Regions from separate parts of the Homo sapiens genome. Here region 2 is linked to region 1. Evidence: promoter capture Hi-C in 16 types of primary human blood cells and fetal thymus (Javierre and others, 2016). All regions are on one chromosome and are shown on one strand. The core of a region is centred on a gene start or on the middle of the fragment in contact, and the rest is flanking DNA. Distances in the headings are between cores, read along the strand shown. Region 1 holds the start of ZNF567 (zinc finger protein 567). Region 2 holds the start of ZNF549 (zinc finger protein 549).

Region 1 (7,066 bases), core at 3,228-5,727:
TGGTTAATCCAACCAGTTTCCTTCTCTTGGATATTTGGAATTCAATTATTTCTTTACACTTTCCAAAATAATTCCCTGTGATGTAGATCCAATGACCCTCACAAAAACCCTGAGTGAGGTAGGTCCTATTATACCTGAAATTGACTAACATGACTAACACAGGAGACACTCATGGCTTGCTCAGTGTTACACATTGCAGAGGTGGCCTAGCCAAGATTTTTTAAATGACAGCATTGAGATATAATTTACACACCATAAAATTCATCCATCTAAAGTATACGATTCAATGGTTGTTGGTATATTCACAAACCATCATAATGAACAATCATCCACAACCTAATTTTAGAACATTTCAATCACCATGAAAGAAACTCCAAAAGAATGCATGCCAAATTTAAGATCATTAAGATGTATGCCTATGTGTTTTTTCCTAAGAGTTTTATAGTTTCTTTTGTTTTGTTTTGAAACAAAGTCTCACTCTGTTGCCCAGGCTGGAGTGCAGTGGTGTGATCACGGCTCACTGCAGCCTCGACCTCCCTGGGCTCAGGTGATCCTCCCACCTCAGTCTCCTGAGTAGCTAGCCACAGGGGCGTGCCACTACGCCTGGCTAATTTTTGTATTTTTGTAGAGACAGGGTTTCACTAAGTTGCCCAGGCTGGTCTTGAACTCCTGGACTCAAGCAGTGCACACACCTCAGCCTCCCAAAGTGCTGGGATTACAGGTATGAGCCACCAAGCCCCACCAAAAGTCCTATTTTAAAATGTGCTCTTTAATAACATATCATGTAATTAGTAAAGTCACTTCCTTTGTATCTCTTATTTTTGATGACCACTGTAAATAAGTCTTTTTCCCCATACTTTCCACATACACACACACCCCCTATTTATTTGTTAATGTTTTTTCCAACAACCCTGAGTTTTCTAATTGTTATCACTGTTCAATTTTTAATAGGATGAAAACTTAGAAATATTTCTGCCTCAGCCTCAGCTGATATCCCAAAGATAGCAAATGAAACAAAATTCTAAGAGAACTTCATTCAAGAACAGGATCTTATAGAGCTGTTGAGTGTAAAATTTTGCTATCATTAAACTCCTCCTTTAAAGACAGTGGAGAGGCTGAGAGAGGAGCATGTATTTTTAAGAGACTGTTATTTTTAGAACAGTGTTTTTCCAGGGGGAAAAACGTGAGTGATTCTCCCTTTTTTACAACACACAAGGGGTCCCTCAGACCCTGAGGCCACCAGGAACCAAAGTGGTGAGAGAATTCTTGGCAAAAATTTTACATATTTCTAAGATTTGGGAGGGCAAAGTGACTGAGGTGGCTAATTCTCACCTTAGCACTAGGTGAAGACCCCATGGGTGGAGGCTGTCTGGGTTGTCTTGGGTCCTATCAAAGAGGAATGACTGGACAAACCCACCCACCAGAGTCGGTGGGCCACTGAATGCCCAGAGGAAGCACTGGGGCAGCAGCTGGAGAAGAGGCTATGCCCATGAGAAGGGAAGTGTATCTGGAGGTTCCAAGCAGCAGGTTCTCTTGGAAGGTAAGAGATGACTTACACTAAATTATAGTGGTATCAGTCATGTTAGCCTCTTCTTGTCTCTGACTTCTGTCTTCTCATTCCTTTCCCAGCTCCCAATCCATGAGAGCTAAAGACTGCCTATAGGGAGTAAAGAGGAGACAAAATAAAGGTTGGGGAATTAGAGAAGAAACTAATCATGTATCCTTTCACATTTCAGGCTTCCAGCAGAAGAAATTCATCCAGCAAAAAAAAAAATAAATACACACACACACACACACACACACACACACACACACACTCTCAAATAGGAATTTTGAGAGTGGCAGTTATGAGATAAAGTTTTTTTCTGTGTGGTCCCAGTGGTATTCTATTCATTTAAGCATATCAGTCATCAGTCAATACCAGGTTTCCCAATAAATGATCTTTTTTGGAAGGGAAGGGACGGAGTCTCGTTCTGTCGCCCAGGCTGGAGTGCAGTGGCGCGATCTTGGCTCACTGCAACTTCCACCTCCGAGTTCAAGCGATTCCCCTGCCTCAGCTCCCGAGTAGCTGGGGCTACAGGCATGCGCCATCATGCCCAGCTAATTTTTATATTTTTTAGTAGAGACGGGGTTTCACCATGCTGGTCAAACTCCTGACCTCAGGTGATCTGTCCGCCCCAGCCTCCCAAAGTGCTGGGATTGCAGGCGTGAGCCACCGCGCATGGGCCCAATCTTTTTTTTTTTTTTGAGACGGAGTCTTGCTCTGCCACCCAGGCTGGATTGCAGTGGCACGATCTCGGCTCACTGCAAGCTCCGCCTCCCGGGTTCACGCCATTCTCCTGACTCAGCCTCCCAAGTAGCTGGGACTACAGGCGCCCGCCACCACGCCCGGTTAATTTTTTGTATTTTTAGTAGAGACGGGGTTTCACCATGTTAACCAGGATGTTCTCGATCTCCTGACGTCGTGATCGGCCCGCCTCAGCCTTCCAAAGTGCTGGGATTACAGGCGTGAGCCACCGCGCCCGGCCCGCATGGGCCCAATCTTACCCTCTGAAAATTATTTTGCCTCTTCCTCTCCATTAAAAAAAAAAAATCACTACTTATTTTACTTGTCTAATTACCAGAGTCAAATTCTACAGGCATATATAAAATGCCCAATACTCATAAATCAATCTAAACAATGCATACTTTAGTCAACACTCGGTTTCTCAAGCACTCCACCTAAGTCACACAGTGTGCCACATTCACAGTCATCATAGGTCGTGTACACCAAATACTTTTAAAATTAGGCATATTCATAGCTGTATCACCCACTACATAGTCATAATCCCATAGGCCCCCACGTCGTGCACAATTTCACAGAACTTCTACAAAAAGTAACAACCTTTCACTCACAATGCCCTCACTGTCGCCTCTCCAGAGTCGGACACAGGCTCAAACACAAATCGACTCGCATCTAATTTAAATTAAAACTTAAGACACGCAGGGACCCTATCACTTTCATAAACAACCGGTTCCACAACGTCACACAGAATAACACATTCCCCTACCACAACACACAGGACAGGTACGAAAAGCCACACACACACACACGGAGCGCCTGTTGTGTGCCAGGCCGTGCTCCAGGAGCCAGGGGACGAAAATCAGACGAAATTCCTGCCACTGGGGAGCTCACCCCCCGCCTCGGGCAACCGGTTCCCTTCTTCAGGTGCTCCCGGGCCCGCGCTCTGGTTCCTGCTTCCCTCCCAGCCTTCTCTGAGGCCCGGACTCGCACTTTCCTCCAGCCAACTCCTCGTCCCAGGTTGCTCCTCTTCCCTTCTTGCTTTCCCCAGCCCAGGCTCCCGCCTCCCTCCTCAGCCTTCCTTACGGGTCACACCGTCACCCGCCTTCTCCGCGCCCGCGGGACCCACCAGCCTCACCTTCGGTTGCCGGCCGGGCGTCTGCGCATGCGCACTCCCACGCGGACGATGCCTCCCAGGTGTCTCCGCGGCGCGTTCCTGCTGTCCACCGGCTACGCGCGCCTTCTCCACATCCGGGCGTTTCCGGCCTTGGACTACATTTCCCACAGGCGCCCGGGCGGTTTTCGAACTTTGATCTCTGGTTCCCCTTCCAAATTCTCATAGTGCGTGGCTGGGATGAGGGCGGCGCTCACGGTGAGGAAGCCCCGAGCTCCCGGGACGCAGACAGGGTGTGCAGGGCCGTAGCTCGGGCCTGTGTATGCACCTGTGCGTGTGTGTTTGATGCCAGGACAAGGCGGCGGTGTGCGCGGCGAGGAGGCTGCGACAGGTGCGTGATTGTGTTCCTGTCCCTGCTCGGATGCGGGACCTTTGGGTGGCCGTGGTCGGCTGTCGGGTGTGTGACACTGTAGGGTTTGAGACCTTCCATCATGACAGTGCTGCTGTGGCCGTGTGATGGAAGAGCCTTTTAGGTCTGTGGTGTTGTGTGTGTAACGGGTAAAGCTTCATTTCTGCAGTGCTGTGTTTAATGTTGGGACTGAGGGGTCTGTCGAAGATCTCCCCAATGTGCCTGTGAGGACTATGATCCATGCCTATGTTAAGCAGAGTCATCTTGCAATGAAGCATGGCCCGCGTTGTCTTCTCAGGGCACACCTGTCCCCAGTTCTCAGCCTGGTGTTTGACACAGGGGATCCTGGCGGAGTGCCCACCTAAGCGGCAGTTTTAGACTCGATTGTTTCTTGGGCTCTGCATCTCTGAGTTCCCAGCTTCCTTTTTTCTCCCGCTTTATAGCTGTATAGACCCCAGCTGCAGTGAAATGGCCATCAAAAAGGGAAGGGATAATCGAGTGGTGGAATAAAATCTGCAAACAGAAAAAGGACAGACCTGTTTTCGGAACGAGGCTTTTCGAGTTGTAAGTGTCCCTTAAGCAGAGTTCTGGGAAGACGTCGTGGGGAGAACCTAGGAGTAGGATTCCTTCCTCAGAGGCTCTCCCTTGGGAACTCTCAGAGGTCAGGTTCCATGTGATCCACATCATTCCCAGAGCTGTCTCCGCAGGAGACTTAACGTGAATTTTGAGAAAGTCCCCAGTCCTGGATATCAGTGACCCTGGCCTTTCCCTTGAATACTAAGAAGGGTTAGCAGTACTCCCATCTCCCTTTTACTTCCATCTGAGTATGTTTATGGTAGATGATGAGAGCTCGTGTGGTGGCAATAATTTTTTCCAATTTAGCCAATCTGGGTTCCAAGAAAGGTCTGATGTCTCATGATTCCTTACCCCTTCTCCCTTGCCTTGAGGTTCTCTAAGAGCCCTGAGGAAAGGGAACCATTGCTGAGCATATCTGAAAACCAAGGTCAAGGAAGTTTTGTTGTATTTTCTATTTTTGTTCTCTTTGATTTTGTTTTTCAGCAAGGGAGTATTTTTTCTCCTCCTGAAATGCTAGTCAGTGGTTAGGTTACTATTAGGCAGGGCCTTGTGAGGTGCTTTGACCAATAGAATGTGGTGGAAGTGATATTGTGAGACTTCTGAGACAAAGCTTCAGGAAGTCTTGCAGCTTTTTCTCTTCCCCTTTTCCTGCCCTGAGACCACCATGACTGAAGGCTAAGAGCAACTTGCTTGCGCATTAAAGATCACTTGGAGAGAGAGGTCCAGTGAGCAACAACGGCCAGAAATTTCAGGGAGACCATCTTGAACCATCCAGCCTCCACCAGGCCAACAGCTGACAGCTGTCACATGAATATGATCAGCAGAAGAACCACTCAGGCAAGCCAAGCCCAAATTGCCAAGCCCCCCAAATAATAAGCTAATTGTTTTTTGTTTTAAGCCATAAACTTTTGAGGTGGTTATATAGCAATAAATAACTGAAACAGGTGTTTAACTTTCTAGACTTTTTAAATGACCATATTGATATAATTGTATTGTTCAACCTGTTTTGTAAAGTGATTTCTCTGATACAGTATCTTGAAAATATTCCTTAACTATTTTCTACAACTTTGCATTTGTCTATCTTAGTATTATATTACATGGATATGTGGTAACTTATTTAACTACTAACTTCCCTTTGCAATTCCTTTTCCTTGCTGTCTAGCTCCCATGTCTTGACCAACTTTGCATTCCCCTCCAGGACCTTATGGGCACATGGGTTCCTATCATTTCACGGGTATGTAGACTCAGGAATGTGGCATTGACTTCTGGGTGGAGTACAGATGACTGACACCCCCACCCCGATTCGGAGGAATTATTCAGGGGTGTGATATAACACCTACATACATTTATTTAACTAGCCAATTTGGTCTCCCCTTTTTTTGTTTTGAGACCGAGTCTTGCTCTGTCGCCCAGGCTGGAGTGCAGTGGCGTGATCTCGACTTACTGCAACCTCCGCCTCCCAGGTTCAAGGGATTCTCCTGCCTCAGCCTTCCGAGTAGCTGAGACTACAGGTGCCCACCACCATGTCCGGATAATTTTTGTATTTTTAGTAGACATGGGGTTTCGCCAAGTTGGCCAGGCTGGTCTCAAACTCCTGACCTCACGTGATCTGCCTGCCTCAGTCTCCCAAAGTGTTGGGATTACAGGCATGAGCCACCTCGGCCAGCCGGGTCTCCCTTTTTACATCTGTTTTCCCCTTTCCAGTTCAAATTCTGTATTCTGGGAACATCTTACTTTCTTCACCCTGATTGATTAGGGAAACTTCAGGGTTCTTAGGTAACTTTCTGAAGGACTGGTTTAAGATTCCTAGAGTTGGAAATGGGCGTCTCTCCTGTGTTATTTCTAAAGTGTTATCATCCTAATCCTTCAGAATACTTTCTTGACTTCTTTCTGCTTGATGATTAAGGAATGGTCTCAATTCTCCATAGCCACATCAGACCAAAATTCCATTTCTTTGCCTATGTGAAGGGTTTATTATTAATTACCCTATTAATTTATGTCCAAACCAGATGTGATTTCCTTCTTGGAGCAATAGTTCGTGAAGAGGTTGGTTAACAGCAGTTCTGTGCCCAGGTAAATGAGAGGCAACTGATAAGAGGAACTCGTTGTGTATAAAATCTTAGGATTCTAGATTTAGGACCTTTAAGGCAGTATTTGAATTAGTGCTCTGGAATGTCTATGAAGAAAGTTTGGGTCTCTTCAGCCAGAATTCAGACCATTTCAACATTGCATTCCATGTATCATACACATATCTCCTTTTATTATTATTTTTTCTGCTCTCAAAGCAGATTTCTCTCATTGTAAAATTAGTAGATTCTTAATTCAGAAGATTGGAGAATATTAAAAAAAGCTTAAAGTAAAGCACTTTGAACACTTTATTCCAAATCACTTCACCTCATTTGTGAATAAGTGCATGGATATAGGCTTATAGGACTTTTTCATTCAAAACAGGGTTATATAACAATTGTTTTGAAATCTACTTGTTTCTTCTAACAAAATATAGTGAACAAATTTTCATGTCACTAAATTATGAACTGTGTCATAATCTTTTAATGGCTGCACTGTTCTGTTTGTATATGTAAGTTCTTTCCAGCTTTTTCCCATTATATGCAATGTTTTACTGCATATGCCTTTTCTGTGCACATGTGAATTGTATATTTTGGATAGTCTTAGATATTTTGCTGAG
Region 2 (7,066 bases), core at 1,752-4,251, about 21 Mb before region 1:
GGTAAGGCAGAGTACTTCCACGCTCTCTTACGTCACTCTCCCAGCACTTCCAAGTGTTCACAACCTTGAAGCTTCTAGAACTCATTGTTCAAGATTTTATATAACCTAATCTCCAGATCTCTGCTCCCCTCCCTGGATGCCAGAGGTGGGGCTCAAAGTTCAAATTCTATAATCACTTGATTTTTCTGGTGACTGACTCCACTCTGAGGCTATCTAGAGACTCCACCTTGTCTGCTCACCCTAAGCCATCTCATAAAACTCAAGTATAGAAGTCTTCCCTTATCAGCTGTTTTGCTATTTGCAGTTTCAGTTACCCACACTCAACTTCAGTGTGAAAATTATAAGTATTAAATTTCAACTTCAGTCTGAAAATAGTAATATTAAAATTCCAGAAATAAACAATTCATGTTTTAAATAGTGCACCATCCTTTATTTATTTATTTATTTATTTATTTTATTTATTTATTTTTGGAGACGGAGCCTCGCTCTGTCGCCCAGGCTGGAGTGTAGTGGTGCAATCTCGGCTCACTGCAAGCTCTGCCTCCCAGCTTCACACCATTCTCCTGCCTCAGCCTCCGGAGTAGCTGGGACTACGGGCGCCCACTACCACACCTGGCTAATTTTTTGTATTTTTAGTAGAGACGGGGTTTCACCATGTTAGCCAGGATGGTCTCGATCTCCTGACCTTGTGATCTGCCTGCCTCAGCCTCCCAAAGTGCTGGGATTACAGGTGTGAGCCACTGCGCTGGCCAACAGTGCACCATTGTAAGTAGTGTGAGGAAATCTCACTCTATCGAGTTTAGTCCCTTCTTCATCACAAGGGTGAATAGTACAGTAAGATATTTAGAGAGATACCACATTCACATGTTTTTTATAATTTAACTTTTGCTTTTTTATTGTCTCAACTGCAGTTACTTAACTTTTATTAACTTATAAAGTATAACTGTTCTATATTATTTCCAGTTATTATTGTTCATCTCCTATACTGCCTCATTTATAAACTGGATTTTATTACAGGTATGTAGTCTAGGAAGAAACATAGTATATATAGGTTGGGTACTATCTGCAGTTTCAAGCCTCCGCTGGGGTTCTTGAAAGGTATCCTCTGAGGATAAGGGGGAACTACTGTTCAGACATTCATTGTTCAACTACTAAATGGTATAGCCTATTGCTCCTAGGCTACAAACCTGTACAGCAAGTTACTATACTAAATACTGTCAGCAACTGTAACACAGTGATAATTATTTGTGCATTTAAACATTTATAAACTTAGAAAATGCAGTTTGCCTCCTGATCAGAAAGAAAGAAAATGAAAAGGTACAGTAAAAATATGGTATCATAATCTTATGGGACCACCGTCACTGATGTGGTCAACACTGTTGTTATGCGGTCCATGACTTATCACAAGACACTTTTCACTGAGGAAATTACAACGATTTTAGGAATTCTGTGCCAGGAAAGCATGACAAAAAACAAACATTTATTTTTTATTAGAGCACAGAGTTATAGTGACATTTTATTCGGTTAACTAATTGCTTGCATAAATTTAATTTGTTAAATCTATACAGTCTAAACTTGTATTTTCCTGGGAGAGCTGCTCTTGCTGGGCTTGGGCTTCTCTGCTAGTCTGGCTGACCTTTCTCTGGCTCCACATAGAGTGAACAGTTCGCCAAGTCTTCTGAATGGTGACTCTACACAGTGTCCCACCCTCAAATCCATCCTATGCAGTGTGTATTCCTTACACATTCCCTTTGGAAGTACCCCCGGAACCCCATGGCCCTCCTATCTGCAGGCAGCTTCGCCAAGGCCGACCCACACTTTCCCAGCCTCCAGCCTCAGCCCTCCCTCTCTTCATCTCAAAGTAAAACCTTAAGATTTCCCGTCTAAATTTAAGGCTTGGCTTGAGTCTACGCCCCAGCCTGTCTCCATTTACACATCACTGAGTCAGTCCCCTCCCATGAATTTTCTACTTATGATTCCAACTGCCCATGTAACAACTTCACTCTGTGGCAATTTAGAAACACCACGTCCAAAATTCAACTCCTACTATTTCCCTGAAACCTGCTCCCTCACCAGATTTCTTTGTCAACTCTTCCAGATGTTCAGGTAAAAGAAAAACTTGGGATCATACTTCACTCCCACTTTTGCTCATAGGCACAAATGATGGAGCAGAAAATCCTGCTGGCTTTACCTTTAAGATCTACCAAGATTCTTATTACTTAGGTCCCTTCAGCAACCCGTCTGGTCCAGAATCCACCATAATCCTCCTGGAGCCTACTACAGCAGTCTCCTCACCAGTATCCCTGCGTCCACCCCCATCACTCCGTAACAGTCTGTTTTCTCCACTCATTGCCTTTGAAATATTTTTTCAGACCCTCACTCAGATCGTGTTCTCCTTTAGTTCACAACCCTCCATGGCTCCCAAAGACTCAGAATTAAAAACCCCGGTTGCTCAGGCTGCCATGGCAGCCGTGCCTTCTTCTCCTCATTCTCTCTGCTCCCTGCAGACACAGGTCCGCCCCCAAGTTTCCGAATGCTCGCGACCCCGGCGCACCTCCCAGGCTCTGCGCGTGCAGCCCCCACGGTACGCAACGCTCTCCCTTCTTCACCTCACCGCCCGTCAGCTCTGAGGACCCCACCCAGAACTCCTCGCTGTCCTGGAGAAGAGGCCTGAACTGCAGAGACCCACGCAGGTGACCCCAGTCCGGGGCCTCAGGACCCAGGTGAGGATCCGAGGACTCCGCTCTCACCTGCGGCGTAATCACTAGCGCTGCCTCGGCCATGGGACTTTAGGCGGGGCGGGGCCTGGAAAGGCGGGCGGTAAAGCCCGGGATCCGGCGTGCGTGCGGTGGCAAATCGCTGGGCGACGCTCAGACCGAGACCAGGCAAGCTCCTCTGCGGGCGGACACCACCTCCACCGGTTTCCGGCTCCAGTTACCTGGCCCGGACCCAGCGAGCCGGAAACGCCCAGCCCGCGGACGCGCTCGCAGGCAGCAAAAACGACCACCACCGGAAAGACGCCGGAAGATTCTGGCGTATTGCGCACTTACGGAGGTGCCCCTTTCCTGGGCAATGATTGGTCTAAGGCCCCGGCACGCTCGGCGCACAGTATTCTGGGTGGTGTAGTTCCTACCACGCCGCAGTCCGCCGCGCTGTGAGGACTCAATCCAAGAAAGAGAGGACAAAGGAAAAAACCCATCAAACTAGGGTCAGCAAAGCCTATTACATACACAGGATAAAAGAATACGATTTGATCTTCATTTCTCAACACAAAAGTTGACATATATTGCATACAATACATTAAAAATGTTGACAATTGAGAATTGACGCGACCCTTAATTTTTTTCTTTTTTTTAATGTAGAAACTATAACCAAAAATAAAATTCAAAGGCCTCCCAACTATCTGAATGGACCCCCTCCTCTCAGCATTATAGAGTTAACCTGAAAATCTAGTTCAGGCCATTATGGAAGAAGGGGTTGGACATGCCTCATTCTACCCCTACAGCAATAACATCAGCATAGACCTTAAGTCTGATAAGAAACATTTACAATCTATTTCTCTGAAACTTGCTACCTGCAGGCTTCATCTGTATGATAAAACCTGGGTCTCCAACCAAGGTGATCACTAACAGTGGGGTCAGCATCCCCTTATCCCACACGTTTGTGTTTATTCTGTTTTTTTGCCCTCAAGTGTTAGTGACTTAAATTACATAATGTATCTATTATCATAAGTGGAACTGAAATGAGATTGCAGAAACATTATATCTTCTTTTTCTTTTCTTTTTTTCCTTTTTTTTTTTTGACAGAGTCTCACTCTGTCGCCCAGACTGGAGTACAGTGGTGCAATCTCTGCTCACTGTAACCTCCACCTCCCAGGTTCAAGCGATTCTCCTGCCTCAGCCTCCCGAGTAGCCGGGACTACAGGCATGCGCCACCACCCCCGGATAATTTTTGTATTTTTAGTAGAGACAGGGTTTCACCATGTTGGCCAGGCTGGTCTAGAACCGGCCTCAAGTGATTCGCCTGCCTTAAAGTGCTGGGATTACAAGCATGAGCCACCATGCCTGGCTTTTTTCCCCCATATTTAGCAATTAGCTTTTGTTGCTATCCATTGTCTTCATTTCTCTTTAGTTTTTAATTGTTTATAATTTTGACATTTTATAATTACTTAAGAAAGGTTAGAAAAATTACCATTTAGATTGGAGTCATATTAAATAAGACACCTATATTGTAAAAATATCTTTATGAATGTAATCTTTGGCTATAGTGTTGTAACCGAGCGAGTTATAGAGAAATGCCACACTCTGAGACTAATTCTGGAGTCCTTTTATTGCCAGCGACCGAGAGACAGCTAGAGCTCAAAATTCTTGGCCCCGAAGAAGGGGCTAGATTTCTTTTTATACCTTGATCTAAATAGGGGAGGGGGAGTTTAGCTGAAGCAATTTTTACAGAAGCAGAACAGGCAAAAAGTTAAAAGATAAATGGTTACACAAACATTTACAGGAAAATAAACAGTTCCAGGTGCAGGGGCTTAATTATCACAAAGTGATAAACGCAGGGGCTTTGGGTACCATTAACTGAGTGCGTTCCTAGGAGCTGCTGGTACAGCGTGCCTCAGTGTCTATCAGTAAGTGCATTCCTGGATGTGCTTGGAGTCAGCTTGCACTAGTTATGTCCTTAAGGGAGGGGGATAAGGGGGCTGCAAGTGAAGAAACAAAAATGGAGTCTGTTTGGCTCTCTCAGCTGAGAGAGACAATCAGGTTAAAACAAGGTAGGGCATCACAATCGTTTGTCTCCACTATTATTTATTTCTGATCCTTTTATTTTTTTATTATTTTTTTTTTTTGAGATGGAGTTTCGCCCTTGTTGCCCAGGCTGGAGTGCAATGGCACGATCTCGGCTCACTGCAACCTCCACCTCCCAGGTTCAAGCGATTCTCCTGCCTCAGCCTCCCTAGTAGCTGGGATTACAGGCATGTGCCACCACGCCCAGCTAATTTTGTATTTTTAGTAGAGACGGGATTTCTCCATGCTGGTCAGGCTGGTCTCGAACTCCCGACCTCAGGTGATCGGCCCACCTCAGCCTCCCAAAATGCTGGGATTACAGGCAAGAGCCGCTGCACCCGGCCATGATCCTCTTATTTTAAGAGTTTTACGGGTCGGGCGTGGTGGCTCACGCCTGTAATCCCAGCACTTTGGGAGGCCGAGGCAGGCGGATCACCTGAGGTCAGGAGTTCGAGACAGCCTGACCAAAATGGTGAAACCCCGTCTCTACTAAAAATACAAAAAATTAGCCGGGCGTGGTGGTGGCGCCTGTAGTCCCAGCTACTCGGGAGGCTGAGGCAGGAGAATGGCATGAACCCAGGAGGCAGAGCTTGCAGTGAGCAGAAATCGTGCCACTGCACTCCAGCCTGGGCGACAGAGCAAGACGCCGTCTCAAAAAAAAAACAAAAACAAAAACAAAACAAAACAAACGCAAAAAAATTTAGCCGGGCGTGGTCGCGGGCTCCTGTAGTCCCAGCTACTCAGGAGGCTGAGGCAGGAGAATGGTGTGAACCCAGGAGGCGGAGCTTGCAGTGAGCCGAGACCGTGCCACTGCATTCCAGCCTGGGCGACAGAGCGAGACTCCGCCTCAGAAGTAAATATATACATAAACGAATGAATAAATCTTACTTCATTCAAACTTTGTCACATTTTTTCTTATTTGTGTTTTTCTAAAAGTTCACATATTCTCTAAATATCTCTTTCATTTATTTTTAAAGAGTAATCTGCAAAGCATTATTATCCTTCATATTACTTTAATTTGCACCAGCTTTAAAGTGAACAATCAGGTAGGTACTTTACGTATTGACTGTTTAAAATATAAATGAATATCTGCATTAAATATGATTTAGTGGAATATTGATATTGACTTATTTTATTATATTGACCTTTCTGCTATTTTTAAACAACTTTCTTGAAGTATTGGTTGATATTCTAGAAGAAATTCCATCTCTTTTAGTTAGCTTGCAATATTTAGTTTTGAATTTCAGAAAGCTACGCAAAGAATCCATAATACGGAAAATATTGCTTCCTTCTTTACATGTGTTTATATAGTTATCAGAAAGTTTGAAGTAATCATTCTTGTTGTGATGCATGAGTAATTACTCAGAGTAGGACTTGAAATAATTTATCAGTCTCTATTATTTCTGTTCATTTGGTTCTTGCCATTCCTGTGACATTGTTTTCACATATTCTAGGCCCACCATAATTATCTCACTTCAGACCTTGATATTAATTATCCTTAGATATCTCTATATTGTGGGGCATGTGACACTATCAGGAATATTTTTGCTATACGCTTGATAGACTTATTGTTGCTGTTTGGCCCCAAAATTCCTTCCTCAGCAGGGGAGTTCAGTAATGCCCCAGAGTCAGGACGCTTTCTGCCCCGAATCTCTTCTTTCCTTTACAGCAGAAACTTAAATGCTTCCTGTCATAGCTGGAAGTTCGTGTAGCCTAGTGCCACATATGTGAGGGTGGAATCTTGGTGCATTTAGGGAAACTGTTGGTAAACAATTAAGAATTCCAAAGAGAAACCTCCTATGACTCATTTTCTATGTAAAGGCAATTATTTTGTCATCCTCTTCTATGGAAATGTACCTTGAAACTGTAACGCCTGTGATCCATGTTGTCACATCCCCAGGTAGGAAACCAACCCAAAGAGACACAAATGAACAGAAATTTACTGAGGAAGCTCTAAGGGCCTCTGAAGTGTAGGTCATGCAGAGGTTTTTTTTTTTAAACCCAGAATTACATCGTCTATCCATATTGTTATGAGTCACATCTTACCAGTCCTACACTCCAGGCCACATGTGGCACATATAGCTACATACCACCATCTTGGTCAACCTGAGGGATTTCTGGTGAAAAAGAATATGAAGATGAAGGTAAAAATAAAGATAAAGATGTAAAGGGACAAGGAGCAGGAAGAGAAAGAACAGAAGGAGGAAGAGGAACACGAGGAAGAGGAGGAGTAGGACCAGGATGACAAGAAGCCACCACTAGACTTAAAAGACATCTCTCCA

The links. Contacts are between HindIII fragments. The CHiCAGO score rates a contact against its expected background, and 5 or more counts as called.
Region 2: a contact is called between the fragment with the promoter of ZNF549 here and a fragment that was not itself captured in region 1, in 1 of 17 cell types (activated CD4 T cells). The highest score is 5.3, in activated CD4 T cells.

Annotation. Positions count from the first base shown.
Region 1 is chr19:36,683,988-36,691,053 of GRCh38, reverse strand. ZNF567 (zinc finger protein 567) reads right to left here and starts at 3,442. Exons shown (of 6, transcript NM_001322917.1): 1 at 3,420-3,442; 2 at 1,557-1,657. It overlaps ZNF567-DT (ZNF567 divergent transcript), which reads left to right and starts at 3,605. Exons shown (of 4, transcript NR_110708.1): 1 at 3,605-3,786; 2 at 4,248-4,368; 3 at 5,039-5,217; 4 at 5,543-5,615. RefSeq lists enhancers at 2,386-3,025, 3,586-3,635 and a silencer at 3,326-3,385. The HindIII fragment of the contact is 1,031 bases long and covers 3,962-4,992 here.
Region 2 is chr19:57,523,291-57,530,356 of GRCh38, reverse strand. It overlaps ZNF549 (zinc finger protein 549), which reads right to left and starts at 3,001. Exons shown (of 4, transcript NM_001199295.2): 1 at 2,751-3,001. The coding sequence starts at 2,783. The HindIII fragment of the contact is 12,430 bases long and covers 74-7,066 here.